Linked DNA regions of Homo sapiens: region 2 is linked to region 1. The links are contacts of gene promoters, found by promoter capture Hi-C in blood cells and fetal thymus (Javierre and others, 2016). All regions are on one chromosome and are shown on one strand. Each heading gives the region's core, a stretch centred on a gene start or on the middle of the fragment in contact. The rest is flanking DNA. Distances are from core to core; before and after follow the strand shown.

The links. The method cuts DNA at HindIII sites, captures the fragments that hold promoters and counts their contacts. A CHiCAGO score of 5 or more calls a contact.
Region 2: a fragment that was not itself captured here is called in contact with the fragment with the promoter of ERCC6 in region 1 in 1 of 17 cell types (total CD8 T cells); the score reaches 5.2 in total CD8 T cells.

Annotation. Positions count from the first base shown.
Region 1 is chr10:49,535,117-49,542,801 of GRCh38, reverse strand. ERCC6 (ERCC excision repair 6, chromatin remodeling factor) reads left to right here and starts at 3,681. Exons shown (of 21, transcript NM_000124.4): 1 at 3,681-3,840. RefSeq lists enhancers at 2,999-3,238, 3,269-3,328, 6,571-6,630, 6,661-6,710 and silencers at 3,749-4,038, 4,984-5,172. The HindIII fragment of the contact is 12,532 bases long and covers 1,234-7,685 here.
Region 2 is chr10:49,402,816-49,410,500 of GRCh38, reverse strand. No RefSeq gene overlaps it. Among named protein-coding and RNA genes, the nearest start is that of DRGX, 11 kb to the right of the region's middle. The HindIII fragment of the contact is 6,729 bases long and covers 1-5,941 here.

The DNA of each region.
Region 1 (7,685 bases), core at 2,432-4,931:
CAGTTAGAAAATTATGACAGTGAAAGAGGTCTGAGTTAACGCCCCCATTCCAACACCTATCTTGCCTTTCCCTTAATTATTTCTAAGCTACTGGGGCCAGCTAACTTTGAGAGACATTTAGGCTATAGTTTACATGATAACAGACCTTGCCTGAAACTCAACTGTTTTTGTAAAGCTAATGGGAAGCTATCAGGCTGTGGGGGAGGAGAGGAGCCTGAGTCCTGCTAAGGCGCAGATATGAACGATTGTCAGTCATTATTCTGGAGGTTATAAGATACTCAACTTTCCCAATTACTCCTGCAAATAACACCACTGATATGGTTTGGCTGTGTCCCCACCCAAATCTCATCCTGAATTGTAGTTTCCATAATCCCTACATGTTGTGGGAGGAAGCCGGTGGGAGATAACTGAATCGTGAGGGTGGTTACCTCCATGCTGTTCTGATAGTGAGTTCTCACGAGATCTGATGGTTTTATAAGGGGCTTTCCCCCTCCTTCACTCTGCACTTCTCCTTGCTGCCACCATGTGAAGTAGGACATGTTTGCTCCCCCTGTCACCATGATTGTAAGTTTCCAGAGGCCTCCCCAGCCATGCTTAACTGTGAGTCAATTAAACCTCTTTCCTTTATAAATTACCCAGTCTTGGGTATGTCTTTATTAGCAGCACGAGAGCAGACTAATACAACCACTATTTGTAGCTTTTTGAGATATCTTTCCAGGTTTTTTGCATGTCTGACACCCATGGCTCCACCTGGACCGCCAACCCCACTCCCACAGCCCCACCCAGAAGTGATTCAGACTGCAGGAGGACAGCTTTGACTCCCCCTATGATTTCATCTCAGCCTCAACCAATCAGCAGCAAGCACCTGTTACCTGGCCACTCCCACCCCTTCCTCCAAACTGCGTTTGAAAAACCCCCAGCCTATGAGCTTCGGACTTTGGATCAGATGACCTGAGCATGCACTCCATCTCCCACCTGGCATGGTCGGCCTCGTGTCTATTAAGCTCTTTTTCTACCACAATGCTATGGTCTTTCTTTATGCAGTGGGCAGGAAGAACCCCTTGGGTGGGGTGTTTAAAATAATGCCCAGCTTAGAGTAAGGGCTAGGAAATGGTAGGGAAAATGGATTAAAATCCAAATCAATAACTACTATAATAATGACATTAGAAATATTGGTTTGGGGGTACACAGGAGATGCAAGAGCCTATTGCTGTCAGAGGGTAGGGGAAAGCTTCAGAAAAGAGAAACTTTGTCTGAGTTTGGAATGGGTAAGAGAATTCTAAGCAGAGGGACCTGCTTGTAAGATCACAGAAGTGACAGAATAACAAGTAGGGGTATGTGGGAAAAGATTAATAATTGCCTCTCCCCCAAAGTTCCAGTTTATAGTTTGTCCATTTCTGTGGTATAAATACTCCTACTATGGCTGATTTCAAGCTATTAATGTGAAGTCAACAAAGGCAGAGTTGGTGCTATGGGCTAAACTGGGTGCCCCCCAAATTCATATGCTGAATCCCTAACCCTCAATGTGACTATTTGGAGACAGGGTCTTTAGGCAGCAAATCTGGTTAAATGAGATCATAAGGGTGAGTCCCTAATCCAATACGGCTGATGCCTTAGAAGAAAGGGAAGACAGAGCCCTCTCTCTACCCCATGTAAGGACACAGTGAGAAGGTAACCATTTGCAAGCCATGAGGAGAGCTTCCCCTAAATGAGCTAAATCTGCCTGCATTTGATCTTGGACTTCCCAGCCTCCAGAACTATGAGAAACAAATGCCTGTTGTTTAAGCTGCCCAGTCTATGGCATTTGTTATGGCAGCCTGAGCTAAGGCAGCTGGGAAGAGGTGAACAGTATGCTTGCTAGGCCGTAGAAGCCAATTGTAGCACACCCTTCCTGGGAGAAGAGTAAGTAGTTCCCTAAATCCTGAGCATAGGCATCCAGGGAGTGAAGGACACAAGTGATGCAGAAAAATTAGATGGGGCAGGAGTATAAAAGGGCTTGGACGACTTGCTAAATAACTTGGGACCTCATTTAACTAAATTCCCTCATTAAAGACCCTATCTTCAAATACAGTCACATTCTGAGGTCCCGGGGTGGGGGTGGGGAGTGGCGGTTAGGACTCCAGCATATGAATTTTGGGGAGGGGACACAATTCGGCCCTTAATAGCTCCAGTTGTGCCACCCTGAGTTGTTTTCCTGAACCCCGCCCACGTCTTTGTAAATAATAACTCTCAACTTCCCCTTTTGAGTGGACCATTTTTTCCTGTCCAAATTCTGATATAGGAAGGGTCTCCAAAATAGCTGCAAAGGGAACCTCAGTCTCAAAAGTTGGGATCCACTATATATCTGCTTTTACTTTCAAGCATTGAAACTAATGTCAATCAACTGCCTTTCTATTCTTAATATTTTATCCAAGAAATCGCTAGAATTCTTTCTCCTTTAAAAAAAAAAAAAAGCAAGTTACAAGCCGGGCGTGGTGGCTCACACCTGTAATCCCAGAACTCTAGGAGGCCGAGGCGGGTGGATCACCTGAGGTCAGGAGTTCGCGGACAGCTTGGCTAACATGACGAAACCCCGTCTCTACTAAAAACACAAAAATTAGCTGGGCATGGTGGCAGGCGCCTGTAATCCCAGCTACCCGGCAGGCTGAGGCAGGAGAATCGCTTGAACCTGGGAGGAGGAGGTTGCAGTGAGCCCACATCGTGCCATTGTACTCCATCCTGGGCGACAAGAGCAAAACTCCGTCTCAAAAACAAAAACAAAAACAAAACAAACAAAAAAACCCACTACCACCAACAAAAACAAGTTACATTGTGGGTTGGGGCCGCTGACAGGAGGAATAAGATGATGTTATGGAGCATTTCCTAGTCCCCTTTCCGACCCCATTTCCCTATTGTCCGACTTCAGGCTTCCAAGTGAGGACAGCACTTCCCAGGCAGTGACCCGCAGTCACTGCCCTCCCAGAGGACGTCCTGCCTCGCGGCCCTGGAAAGTCCACCTTCTCCTAGCACCGATCCTGAGCTGAGAAGCTCTGTCTGGTACAGCCATCCTGCATCGTGGGCTGCTTCTTTCCCCAGGCGAAGCTCAACTTCCTCCCATTGTTCTGAACCTCTGTGTGGACATCTTCTTTCTTCAAACGCACCACGGTAAAATTCTCGCCTGCCTCGAAACCCCGCCTACCTCTGAGATCTGAGGACGGATACTAAACGCTGGACTTAAGGCAATGTACACATGTAAGCAGGCTCTGTAGGCACTCACTCCGCCCAGGTGCGCGCGTGGCGGAGGGGGAACAGAGAAGCAGGACAGCTCTCCATCCTTCCCGTGTTCAGTCGTGGGAGACAACAAGAGAGGTCACAGCCTGGCGACCAAAAAGTGCGGCTAACTTCCCTGCCCAAGCTGACTTTCTCTGCAGGGTTCAAGGTTAATTGTGAGGATTTACATTCGCATGGCACACCCGCATCCCCCTCTACGTGGAAATATGTCTTAACTTTCATAACTGCCTTGCCAGCAGGGTATTTTTCGCTAGGGGCGAAGCGTCCTTCGCAAGCCACCCAGCTGACCGGCAGCGGAGACAGCTTTCTCGCCCTGCTCGCACGCAAGTAGAAAGGCGCTGCTGAGCCCGTCCCTCCAAACCACGTGGTCTTGCCCGTGCTTAAAAACAAACGCTGAGCCAGGCGCATGCGCCACGGGCCTCCCCGCACCAGCAGAAGTCGGAGTCGCTGTTGGGGGCGGTGTCTATGGTTGAGCTGAGGGCGCAGGCGCCACGGCCCGTCGAGCTGGGTTCCAAGGCGGCTGGCGGCGGTAGCGTCTCTGTTTCCTTGTGGGCGCTCGCGCGGCCCTGGGTGAGTGTTCGGGGGTCCCGGCCGAATGTCGGGCAGGGGGTGTCGGGGCCCAGCTCAGGCTTCTCGGGCGGGCCGCGGCCCCGCGCCTTGGCCTCGCCGTGGTGATTGAGCCTGTCAGCGAGGACGCACTGTAGCGGGTCTTAGGGCCAAGTGCCCGCTTCCGGCGGCCTCACCTGAGACCGGAAGTAGCGCCAAGGAGCGCTCACCTGAGGCGGCTTGAGTCCCTGGCCGGCCAGCGACCCAGCTACTTCTCCGACTTTGTATAAGGCCCCCTGCGCGCAGGGTCAGCTGGGTCCTTTTTGATCTCGATTAAAATGCTGGAGCTGTTATTTTAAAGAGAGTCGGGCTAGATGTACGTCCGACGTTTTGGGCGTTGATAGAGTCAAATTGATAAGAGTGTGGGCGGATGAGGCAGGCCGCCTGTAAATGCTGCTGTTACGTGACTTCCACGCAGCGTCTTAACTGCTGTCATCCTGTGACAGGCAGCCCTCGCTTTTCTCCTCAACTTTTCCCATCATCTTCTTGTTGCTTTGTCTCCTCCAATCCATTATCCGCACAGTTGTCCAGGTGGTCTCTGGCATAAAGTAGGTCATGCCATCATCAGCCTACTTAACAGTTTTCAGAGTCATTCCATTGCACTGGGAGTGGAATCCATGCTCGTGTTTTCCCAGGCCTTGTGTGATTTGGCCCTTGCCTGTCCCCTCTCAGAACTGTGCCTGTGTCCGACCAACCCTCCAAATGAGACCCAGCTTGCCCCTGGCTGCGGGAGCCCCAGTGATGGGGGAGGACGGTGAAGATACTAGTGTCCCAGATGATTAAGCCTTAGAAGATACTCTGCAAGACTTAGGCCATGAACGGAGCCCTTCTCTGCTCTTCTTAACTCAAAGTTAAAAATAAAGTCAAAAATTCGGTGTTCCAGCCTTCTTGCATTTTCACAAGTGCATCAGCTCTTTCTAGTCTTAAAAGTTACGCACGTTGTTGGGAGGCCGAGGTGGGTGGATCACCCGAGGTCAGGAGTTCGAGACCAGCCTTACCAACGTGGTGAAACCCTGTCTTTACTAAATACGAAAAATTAGCCGGGCATGATGGCATATGCCTGTAATCCCAGCTAATCGGGAGGCCAAGGCAGGAGAATCGCTTGAACCCGGAAGGCGGAGGTTGCAGTGAGCCTGGCGGAGCCTGGCGGAGGTTGCACTCCAGCCTGGGCAACCGGAGCGAAATTCCGTCTCAAAAAAAAAAAAAATTTCACACGTTGTTTCCTTGCAAGACGTTCACTTTACTTTCGACCTGACTGACTTATCAGATGTCACTTTATCAGAGAGGCCTCCTTGACCCCACATCTACCTCCACAATTTCAATTTGGTTTCTCTCATTTTGTCAGAAAGCCTTGTACTTTCCTCTTAACAGCAGTCACCACAATTATATTTGTGTGTGTGTGTGTGTGTGTGTGTGTATGTGTATATATATATATATAGTTTTTAAATGTCTGTTTTTCCCATGAGACTCTAAGCTCTTTGGGGACAGGAATTAGTTAACCTAGTACATTGCCTGGTGTAATTAACTCTCAGTAACTATTTGTTAAATGTATGATTTCTTTCTTTCTTTTTTTTTTTTTTTTTGAGACGGAGTCTTGCCCTGTCGCCCAGGCTGGAGTGCAGTGGTGCGATCTCGCTCACTGCGGCCTCCGCCTCCTGGGTTCAAGCGATTCTCCTGCCCCAGCCTCTCGAGTAGCTGGGATTACAGGCGCGCGCCTCCATGCCCAGCTAATTTTTGCATTTTTAGTAGAGACGGGGTTTCACTATGTTGGTCAGGCTGGTCTCGAACTTCTGACCTCGTGATCCTCCCGCCTCGGCCTCCCAAAGTGCTGGGATTACAGGCATGAGCCACCGCTCCCGGCAAATGTATGATTTATTTCACTTCTGAAATTCTTTAACCTGATAAGAGCCTTCTGGTTTCCAACTCTCACTTCCAGAAGACTTGGTTTTCTGGCCATTGCCAGATACTAAGTGACTTCTTGAACCCTTTCTCCCATTTCCAGGCCCCTTCTGTTTTTTTGTTTGTTTGTTTTTGTTTTTTTAAACCTACCCAGCTTGGACCCTGAAGTCAGTTGCTTCAGCTACTCTTCTCAGCATCTTCAACCCCGTGACTCTTTTGCGCTACCATTTCTGCTCTGAAAACCCTCAATAGTGACATTTCCCCCAGGACTACTGAAGGAGGAGATTGTTCAGCCCTGGAGATTGTTAGCAGTCTATGGCTTTGCAGGGCTGGGGAGATCCTCAGGTAGGTCCTCCACAGCAATCATCAGTGTTTGTTCCCTGTCAACTCCCTTTTCTCTTGTACAGGACATTTATTCCAGACTCTTAGTCTTTAGCCCCAGTGCCAACTTTGTCTCCTGACTCAGGAACTGCCCAACTTGCTGCTTTGTGGGATATTTTGTCTGTAATCCACTTCAGCTTCCCTCCTTTCCACCTGCAAATTTAGATCTATCAGGAATCCTCCTTCTGCCAGAGTCCGAGAAAGATGTGTTGTGCCTCCTGTTCATTTCTGCTTGCGACCTTCCACTTTTGCTGTCTCTTTTGGTACACCTTTCTGGGTTATCTCCTCTGTCTCCCTCCAGCCATTACGTGCTCTAGTTTTTCTTGCCCTAGTTCTCTCCCTACCCCCAACAAATCCATTATTACTTTATCACTGTAGCTGTCTCCCTGCCAGAGGCAAGCTCTTTAAAGGACAGGCCACTCTCTTGTGGCCTCCATTTCCTCATCCACTCCTTACACACCAACTACATTTCAACCACTACAGTCTGGTTTTTGGCCCTATCGCTCCACTGAAACTTTTTTATTTTTTCGAGACAGAGTTTCACTCTTGTTGCCCAGGCTGGAGTTCTGCGGTGTGATCTCAGCTCACTGCAACCTCTGCCTCCTGGGTTCAAGCGATTCTCGTGCCTCAGCCTCCCGAGTAGCTGGGATTACAGGCATGCACCACCACGCCTGGCTAATTTTTGTATTTTAGTAGAGATGGGGTTTCACCATGTTGGGTCAGGCTGGTCACGAACTCAGGTGATCCACCCGCCTTGGCCTCCCAAAGTGCTGGGATTACAGGTGTGAGCCACCAAGCCTGGCCTGAAACTTCTTTTACCAAGGTAAATGGTGACCCATTGGTATCCAAATTCACTCAGCCTTTTCTCATTCACTGGACGCTCTTCCTCCTTTTTTATTATTAGAAGTTTTCCCCAAACTTCTTTATTTTTAACCTTGTCTTTACACTACAATACTATTGCTTTTTGATATTATTTTACAGAAATAGAAAAATGGTTACTTAATATTTTTGGTTGAATTGGCATCCTTTTTTCTTAAAAAGAAATCCTCATGTGTGTACAAATAAGAAAAATGAAAACAGAATTGTTAACTGCCAGCTAGTACAGACACTCTGAGCTGGAATCCTGCTCTCTCTGTTGGAAAGTGAGGTGAGCTGAGCCTTCCTCTTGAAAATAATCAGCAGGCCCCAAAAGAAGGAACTTTCTCACTGTGTTGTTCACTTTTTAACCTTTCCAATGTTAGCCTCCTCGTACCCTCCAAAATGACCTTAGGTACCTGTCAGAGCCTTGGGAACCCTGGAACTGCTCACTCTGCTGATGTGTCCACATGTCACCCAGACTTTCCCTTGAGCTCAGATTTGCATTTCTGACTGCATGCTGCAAATGGTACTGATTACATGTAAGCTGCTTGCCAGTCCTGCTTCCTATCTGCTTCCTTTTTGAGAGTCTCATTTTTGTGACTGAATTCACTGGTGACTCATTTGTCCAGACCAAACTTTTTATTATTTTAGACTTAGCTCTGAACCTCACT
Region 2 (7,685 bases), core at 1,328-3,827, 130 kb after region 1:
ATAAGGGGGAGGTAACAGGACCGCAGGAATGAATCTATAAAAGCACAGGCTGCTGGCAGCAGCAAAATGGGAATAAACTCCTTAGTGCACCTGCAGAGCCCTCTGTCCCATCACTACGCAGGTGCCCCCACAGCAGGACAACCCTGGGAATGCCTGGGACCCTCTGGCCTGGCAACAGTTTGTTGATTGAATAGATAGAAGCACATACAAGACCCACTTTCTCCCAATAACCCCAGGACCATAATTAGGAGCCAGATAAGCCCGCTACTTGCCTCAGCTCCCCTCTGGTTTTTTGTGTGCCCGGGGCCGGCCCCAGGCTGAGCCAAGGAATCCCAGAGAGGGGCATCTGCCACTTCCTCCTGGGGCTGTCTGGGCTCTCTAGGGTCAAGGACAGTGAGTAAGGAGCCCGATGTGGGTCTGCAGAGCCCAGCTTCACCTGCAGCAGTCTCAAAGGTCCTCCCACCTCCTCTGCTGCTGACACAGCCTCCCCCAATCCTGCCATCTAGTGCTCCTTTGATGATGGTGAATTCTGAAAGGAGCCCCACCTGCAGACCTGGGGAGGGCCACAGGGTTTAGAAGACTTTCTGAGAAAACACACCGGTGAAGTCCAGCTGTCCTGCTGGACGCGCTCCTGGACTGTGTGGCTTTCTTGCAGATTTCTTTCCCCTTTCTTCCCTCTTTGGTGTCCCAGGTTGTTTTGTCCTCCCCTAATCCCTTCCTAAGTAGAAACAAAGACTCAAAAAGCCAGGAGCCTGAATGCAAGATGGGAATAAAGAGGTTGAAGAGCCAGGGATGCAGGAGGGCAGGAAGGAGGAAGGCCCTTGGGGGGAAGATGGGTGAGACAGGCCCTGCTGGGGTTGGCAAGGAGAGGGTCTCTCTTCTTGGGTAGCCAGAGAATCAGTGCCGGGTGCTACCTCACCCAACTGGTGGAGCTCTGATGTTCCTGCCGCAAGGACTTTCTGGGGGAATGGGGCCTTGGGGGCTGTCTCCCACCCTCACCAAGACTAAAAGGGCCGAGGCAGTTGAGACTGTCATGTGAGTGGACACACAACCACTGCCACACAAGAAATTGGGAAAAACATCTGTGTCACAGATGACAAATGGAAGATGAAAGCCTTATGACATTAAAAGCTCTCACAAGCTATGAACCTTTCAAAAAGAAAACAGGCGGAGAAGAGGAAGTCCCCCCACCTTGGCCCGGCACAAACAACTTAAAAAAATACAATATAGTCAATATATGTATGATAAACTGTTTTAGCCTGTAAAAATGGAAAAAAGAAAAAACCCTGAGATAAAACAAAATGCCTTTTTGTGTGGCTTGTCAAATCCAGGCACCTGGCATGTGGAGAAATTCCACCATCCCCGAGGTCCTCGGGTTTTAGATTGCTCTCCAGGAGGGCAGACATCCTGCCCTGGTGGCGGGCTCAGAGCCAAAGGCAAGGCCGATAAATAAGTGATGGGATTTCTGGGCACAGAGAGGCAGCTGGGATTACGGTAAATGAAACCTGAACATCGAGGCTCCCACTCACCACTGGACCTGCACAGGTGGATACTCCAAATGATCTCCTTTTGTGCACCCTCACTATAGTTTCATTATGGTCCATTAAACAGCAATAATTAAAACAAAATATATTGGATTTGTTTATCCTGGACTTTGCAAGGAAATGAGATTTGCAACGGTGTTGGTGCACAGTTGAGGACTACAGGACTTGTAATTAGCAGGGTAATTAAGGAGGTGTCGCCTTTTTACTGCAACGGTGAACTTCTCAGGGATAATGAACTCTCCTGGTGGAGGGGAGTCCGGCTGGGGGTAGCCATGGGGACCAGGGGCTGCCTATTGCTGGTCCAGCCAGTAGGGGAGCTGGGGCTCATTTACGTAACAAAATGCTGCATGCCAGGTGCTGTTCTAGAAGCCAGGGTGCACCGTGGAGCTTGCATGAGAGCACTGAGACAGACACCAAGCATGTGCCAATAAAGCATTTGAGAAGGACTTAACAGCTAAGCAGGAAACCAAAGCAAGAATAAAGGTGGAGAGTAGTGGGGACGAGAATTGGGCTTCTTTCGTCTCGGAAGTCTTCTCTTGAAGAGAAGACTTTAAGCCGAGATTAGGATGAAGTGAGGGCCAGAGTCTTGAAGGCCACCCAGGGGCAGCTTTCCAGACAGTGGGAAGGGCAAGGACTGGTGGGAAGGTGGGTGATGGTGTCTGGCCAGGCTGGAGTGGGAACGGGGTACAGGAATGGGTTTTCTCCCCGACTGCCCCCGGTGTGATGCAGAGTGTGAGGACACCCCAGTGACCTCTTGCTCTCTACCCCCTGACACAGAAGGCAGACCTTGTCCCCACTAATTTATTCAATAAAGGCCCTCTCTCCAGGCTGTGTACCTCAGGTGGAGCTAGAGGCAGAGGCACCTGGGAGGACATATTCTTGAGTTGGAGTTGTGAGGTCCAGGGCACATCTCCAGCTTCACCTGTGGTGCCCACCTAAAGGAGAAGGGGTGCCCAGCTACTGTGGGGCTAGGGAGGTAGAATGAACTCCATCATCTGTCCCTTCATCCATCCATTTTTTCATTCCTCCTTCCTCCTTCCATCCACCCACCTATCCATCCATTCTCCACCCAGCAGGCATTTGCAATTTCTGATACCCCAGGCTGTTCCAGGGCCTTAGTAGGAGCAGGAACACCCAGATTGGCCCTGGCTCCTGCCATCCACATGAAGCTCTCTCCAGCGGAAAAGGAGCTACTCCGTCTGCAGTTTGGTGCCACCTGGTGGCAGCTGTTGGCTCTGGCTGAAATCAGTGAGGATGATTCTGGGCTGGGTGGCTCTGTGCAACTTCAGGACAGCAGCAGCTGTTTCAGAAAGTACCAAGTAGGTTAATGCCTCTTCTCAGCCCAGTCTGAGGAAGTTGAGCTGGGAGAATGTTGGGGATGCAGAGACCCCTCCCTGCCCCCACTTCCCTTTTCCCACGATTGGTGGCAGGCTACCTGGCTTCCCACTGTTTCCCCTGTGCTCCCTCGGAGGCAGTGGTTACTACTCTGAATTTACATTTTTATGGAGTTTATAGTTCTGTCCAGTGACCCAGAAAGTATGGCCACTGAGGAGTCTCTCTGTAGGGCTGTAGGCAGAGAGCCCCATCTGCTGCTGACAGCCCTCTGAGACCGTGGGAGGAGCCAAGCGGGTTCAGGGGAGGCTCTGAGGACCACCATATGCCACATGCTAGATGACCCTGCCTGGGAGAAACAGCCAGCAGCCTTGACCTTGACTCCTTTACTATCTGAACTTGTGAGTATCTTTTTTCCTGGCCACGGAAAACAGACCCCTGACCTCATGACTGATTGTCCTAGGACCTGCCTCTACAGGCTTCCAGCTCCACCCCAGAGACCTTTAGCTTTGGGCTACCTGCTTATGACCTCTTCCCCCAGCCAGCCTCTTTACTGAAGCATCTATCTGGAGGCTCAGGGCTTTCCTACAGACCTCTGTCCCTGGCCTGGGTCCTCACATAAGTGTCCAACATCCCAGGCCGTCCCTGAGACCCTGCCTGGCTCTAACTTTGCCACCACTGACTAGAGTGGCTGACTCAGAGGCCTCTGGGATTTGCATGATGGATGTAGTTTTCCACATGGAGCTGTGCTCGTGGGTGTCTCACCACCCAAGAGGATGGGCCACTTGGTTAAGGAGGGGGAGCTGAAGGTTGCTCAAGGTGGAAGTGAAGATGAAGAGAAAAATACTTGCATGCCAATGGTCACTGATGGGCTTTCACAGAAATAGGAAGGACTGTGAGTAATTTGAGGCATCTGCAATATGCTTATTCTTTGATCAGATCATGTATCTACTGAAAATTTATTTTAAGAAAATAACAAAAATTAGCCCAGCAAATTTTTGTATTTTTTGTACAGATGGGGTTTTGCCATGTTGTCCAGGCTTGTCTGGAACTCCTGGGCCTGCCTCAGCCTCCCAAAGTGCTGGGACTACAGGCATGAGCCACCTCCCACTGCTAGTTTTAATTTTTTGTCTTATGTCCTTCGTTAAAATTTTTTTAAACATTTAATTCATTGATTGATTGATTTTCCTTTAGACAACTTTTTCTGAAGAGCATAATAAAAGGAAAGTCAGCCATAAACAAAGCACTTAAAAAATACATTCAGGGATTATAAGTTCAGCTGCCTTCAGACAAGAGACAGAAAGTATCCTTGTGTGAGGGGTGAGATATTCCAAGGGACCAGAACCTCCGCCAGATGCATTCCGTGCAATTGTTTTCACATTTTAGAAAATACAAAACGACTCTAATACTGACACTGGCCAAACAACTCAATGCTCCCACTGGCTGGACAGCCAGAAGGTAACCTTTGCCTAAAGTAAGAAATGAGGGTCCCCTTCCCTTCACCCCTTCTGCATTCCTACCCCCCAACTCCAAACACAATTTCCTGGTTAAAGGGGCGAGGACATGAGAGCCAAGGCAGGTGCTCCTGGGAGAGCCATTGCAGGGAATGGGGAGTAGGCATTACTTGGACACAGCAGAGTTTAGCATAGATGTTGCCAGACAGAGTCTGGACCTGGGTGGGGACAGGCAGGAGGAGAAGGAAAAGGGGGAAGAGGGACAGAAGGGAGGGGAGAGGGAAAGGGGTGAGGAGAGAGGGAGAGGGAGTGGGAGGGAAGGGAAAGAGGAAGGGAAGGAGGGAGTGGAGGGGAGAGTAGGGAGAGAGGGTGGGAAAAAGGGAAGAGGAGGAGGAGAGAGAAAAGGAGGAAGGAGAGAGAGGGAGAGAGAGAAAGACGGGGGGCATTTCAGGAGTGAGGACAGATATGCAGATGTGGAAGGGCTGCCCCCCTCCTCTGTTTTCTGAAAGGCTGTCACAGTTGCTAACCACCACCATCAGCTGTGGAGAATGTTACCATTTCACACAGTAGTTCTTCCATGATGGGAATCCTTTTGGCTTTGCAGATGGGAAAAATGATGCTCAAAAAGCTAAGACAACCAAAGAGCTGGAAAGCAGCAATAAGGATTTGGGACATGAAGCCCCATATCCATTCTATGACTTCAGCTGCAGAGTGGTGGGAGAGTAGCCATTGGGATGGTTTGTGGGTGCAGTCAAGAGAAGCAGGCTAGGGAGAAGTGCCTTCCCACTGCTGCAGCCTTTCCTGTAAGACTGGAGAGGGTGTTCACCTGGCTCGCACACCGTGTATCCCCATGACCATGTAGAAGGTGACTCTCTAAAGGCCCTCAGCAACCTTTAGTAACAGATACAGGAAAGAAGAGACAATTGATTGTCCCTCTTTAATTCATGCGATTATTCAAGGCCTGACTTGTCCCAGAGAGCACTGAAGGACACCAGCCCAGCACTGCAGGGAGGCACTGGCTTTGTTCGCTGTCTGAGGCACTTATCTCCAAATGCTTTGTTCACGGCTATGTCCTCTGTGACTTGAAGCTGTAGATCTTGTCTTATTAATGTATGCATTGAACAGATCTTTATTTTATGCCTACTAGGTGCCAGCACTGCTAAGCCCATGCTGACCTGCTGTTTACAGTCAGCATTTACAGTCTAGTTGGGGAAATAATATTGGTAAACACACATACACGAACACACACAAATATTATATTAAAAGGTTTAAGCACTGTGAAGGAAATGACATCTCTTTTCTTTTGCCCCCATGTAAGGCTGGCATGAACAGGGTTCTCAGTGAGCATCTGTTGAAGAAATGAGTGCATAAGGGAGAAGAAGAATGTGCAGGCTACAGGAGGGGCCTCCATCCTCCAGCAAAAGGGAGGCCTGGTCCTGAGCTGGGCTGGTGTGGCGGGGGAGTGAAGACGCCATGGACAGCCTGGCTGGCTGGGACTCCCTGAGCCCAAGCTGCCGGGGCTGAGGGGCTGCCTTGGACAGCTGAGGTCCTCTCCAGGGCTGCATCCAGGGGACCTACTCCCTGTTGCTGGAGGTCTCGATTTGGCAAGCTTTGCTACAGTGTCTGTACGAGGCCCTCCCAACACCCCAACCTCCCCAGGTCCCCAGGTACATCTGCTGAATGTTACCTGACCACCGAAACGGGGCTGCACAGCTGTCTGAATAATGGATAAGGAGGCTGATGGATGGGTGGGCAAAGGTGCATGCCTCCCTGTGTGTTACCTTGCCTCTCGCCAGGCTGGCCTGTGGGGGCTGCAGGCTGATTGGGGATGGGGCTGAAAAGTGGGAATTGCCTGGGCCAGCCTTGCCTAGACAGCAGACAATTTCATGGAATAAATATTTCTATTGCGATCTAAATGTGCTCTGAGAGTCTGCTGTTGAGTGAGACTGAGGCCACGGGGAGGAGAGGGAGGCAGTGCCCCACCCCTGGGAAATGTGCTGAGGAGTCCTGTTATGGCCTGGCTATGCCATGCAAGGTCATGGCCAACAGAGTCACCAAGAGCAGAGCAGTGAGGTGTTGGGGAGGGCAGAGGGCAGTCCTGGAGAGGTGGGACCGATGTGGATGGGAGTGGGCTGGTCAGGTGGGGAGACGGAGGGCCCTGCTGATCCAGGATTGCAAGAGCATGACAGTGAAGTCACAGCTGAGAAGTATTCACTGTGTGTGTCTTTGCGTGTGTGAGAGAGTGGGAGGGGGAGAGAGAGAGGAGAGAGAGAAAGAAGGGAGGGAGAGAAAGAGAAAGGGAGGGAAAGAAGGAGAGAGAGAAAGAGGAGAGAGAGAAAGAAGGGAGGGAGAGAAAGAGAAAGGGAGGGAAAGAAGGAGAGAGAGAAAGAGGAGAGAGAGAAAGAAGGGAGGGGGAGAAAGAGAAAGGGAGGGAAAGAAGGAGAGAGAGAAAGAAGGAGAGAGAGAAAGAGAGAGAGAGAGAAAGAAGGAAAGAAAGGAGAGACAGAAGGGGAGAGAAAAAAGGGGAGAGCGAGAAAGAGAGACAGAAAGAAGGAGAGAAAGAAGAGAATGAGAGAGAAGGAGAGAGAGAAAGAAGGGAGAGAGAGGGAGAGGGAGAGAAGGAGAGAAAGAGCAAGAGAGACAGGGAGAGAAAAAAGAGGAAGAGAGAGAGGGCTGGAAAGAGAAAGAATGAAGTGGTGAAAGGAAGAAAGAGAAACGGGGAGAGGGAAAGAGAGAAAGAAGAGAGAGTGCTGGGGGCAGCGAGAATAACCTACTGATGCCTGGATCAAGTACTGACAGGCAGACCTTGTCAATAGGGAGGTTTAAGAGGCCAGACTTGACCCCAAGTTCTCCTGGTTGAAAACCCAAACGCCTCCTGCTGCAGCTATGTACATAATCCAAGTCTTAGAAATGGAAAAGATTCATTGTGTTTGCTAATTATTCATGTAGCAAACTTACTTCATTCCTTCCGTGGTAATTTCCATTAAATTCCACACATTTATCGAGCACTTAATATGGGCAATTGAACGTGCGTTTTGTTTGAGGGGAGCCATGTCCTATTTAGGGGGCAGCAGCCGGGGGTGTCGGGCTGGGGATCAGGAGGACTGGCCGCCAACCCTGCCTCTGCTGTTCCCAGTCCCCTCTCCATGTACCACAGCTCCATTCAAGTCATATGAATGCACCCAAAGAGCTTTGCACCCAAGAGCTGACCTTGAAAGCTATTTTTTTTTTCTAGAGGTTTATTGGTGAAATAATTTAGACTTGGAGACTGAGATCTTTCTTCTATTTCTGGCCGGTCCCAATTTGAGATTTCCTTAGATTGATTTAGTTTTCTTATTAGCAATTCATTATTGCA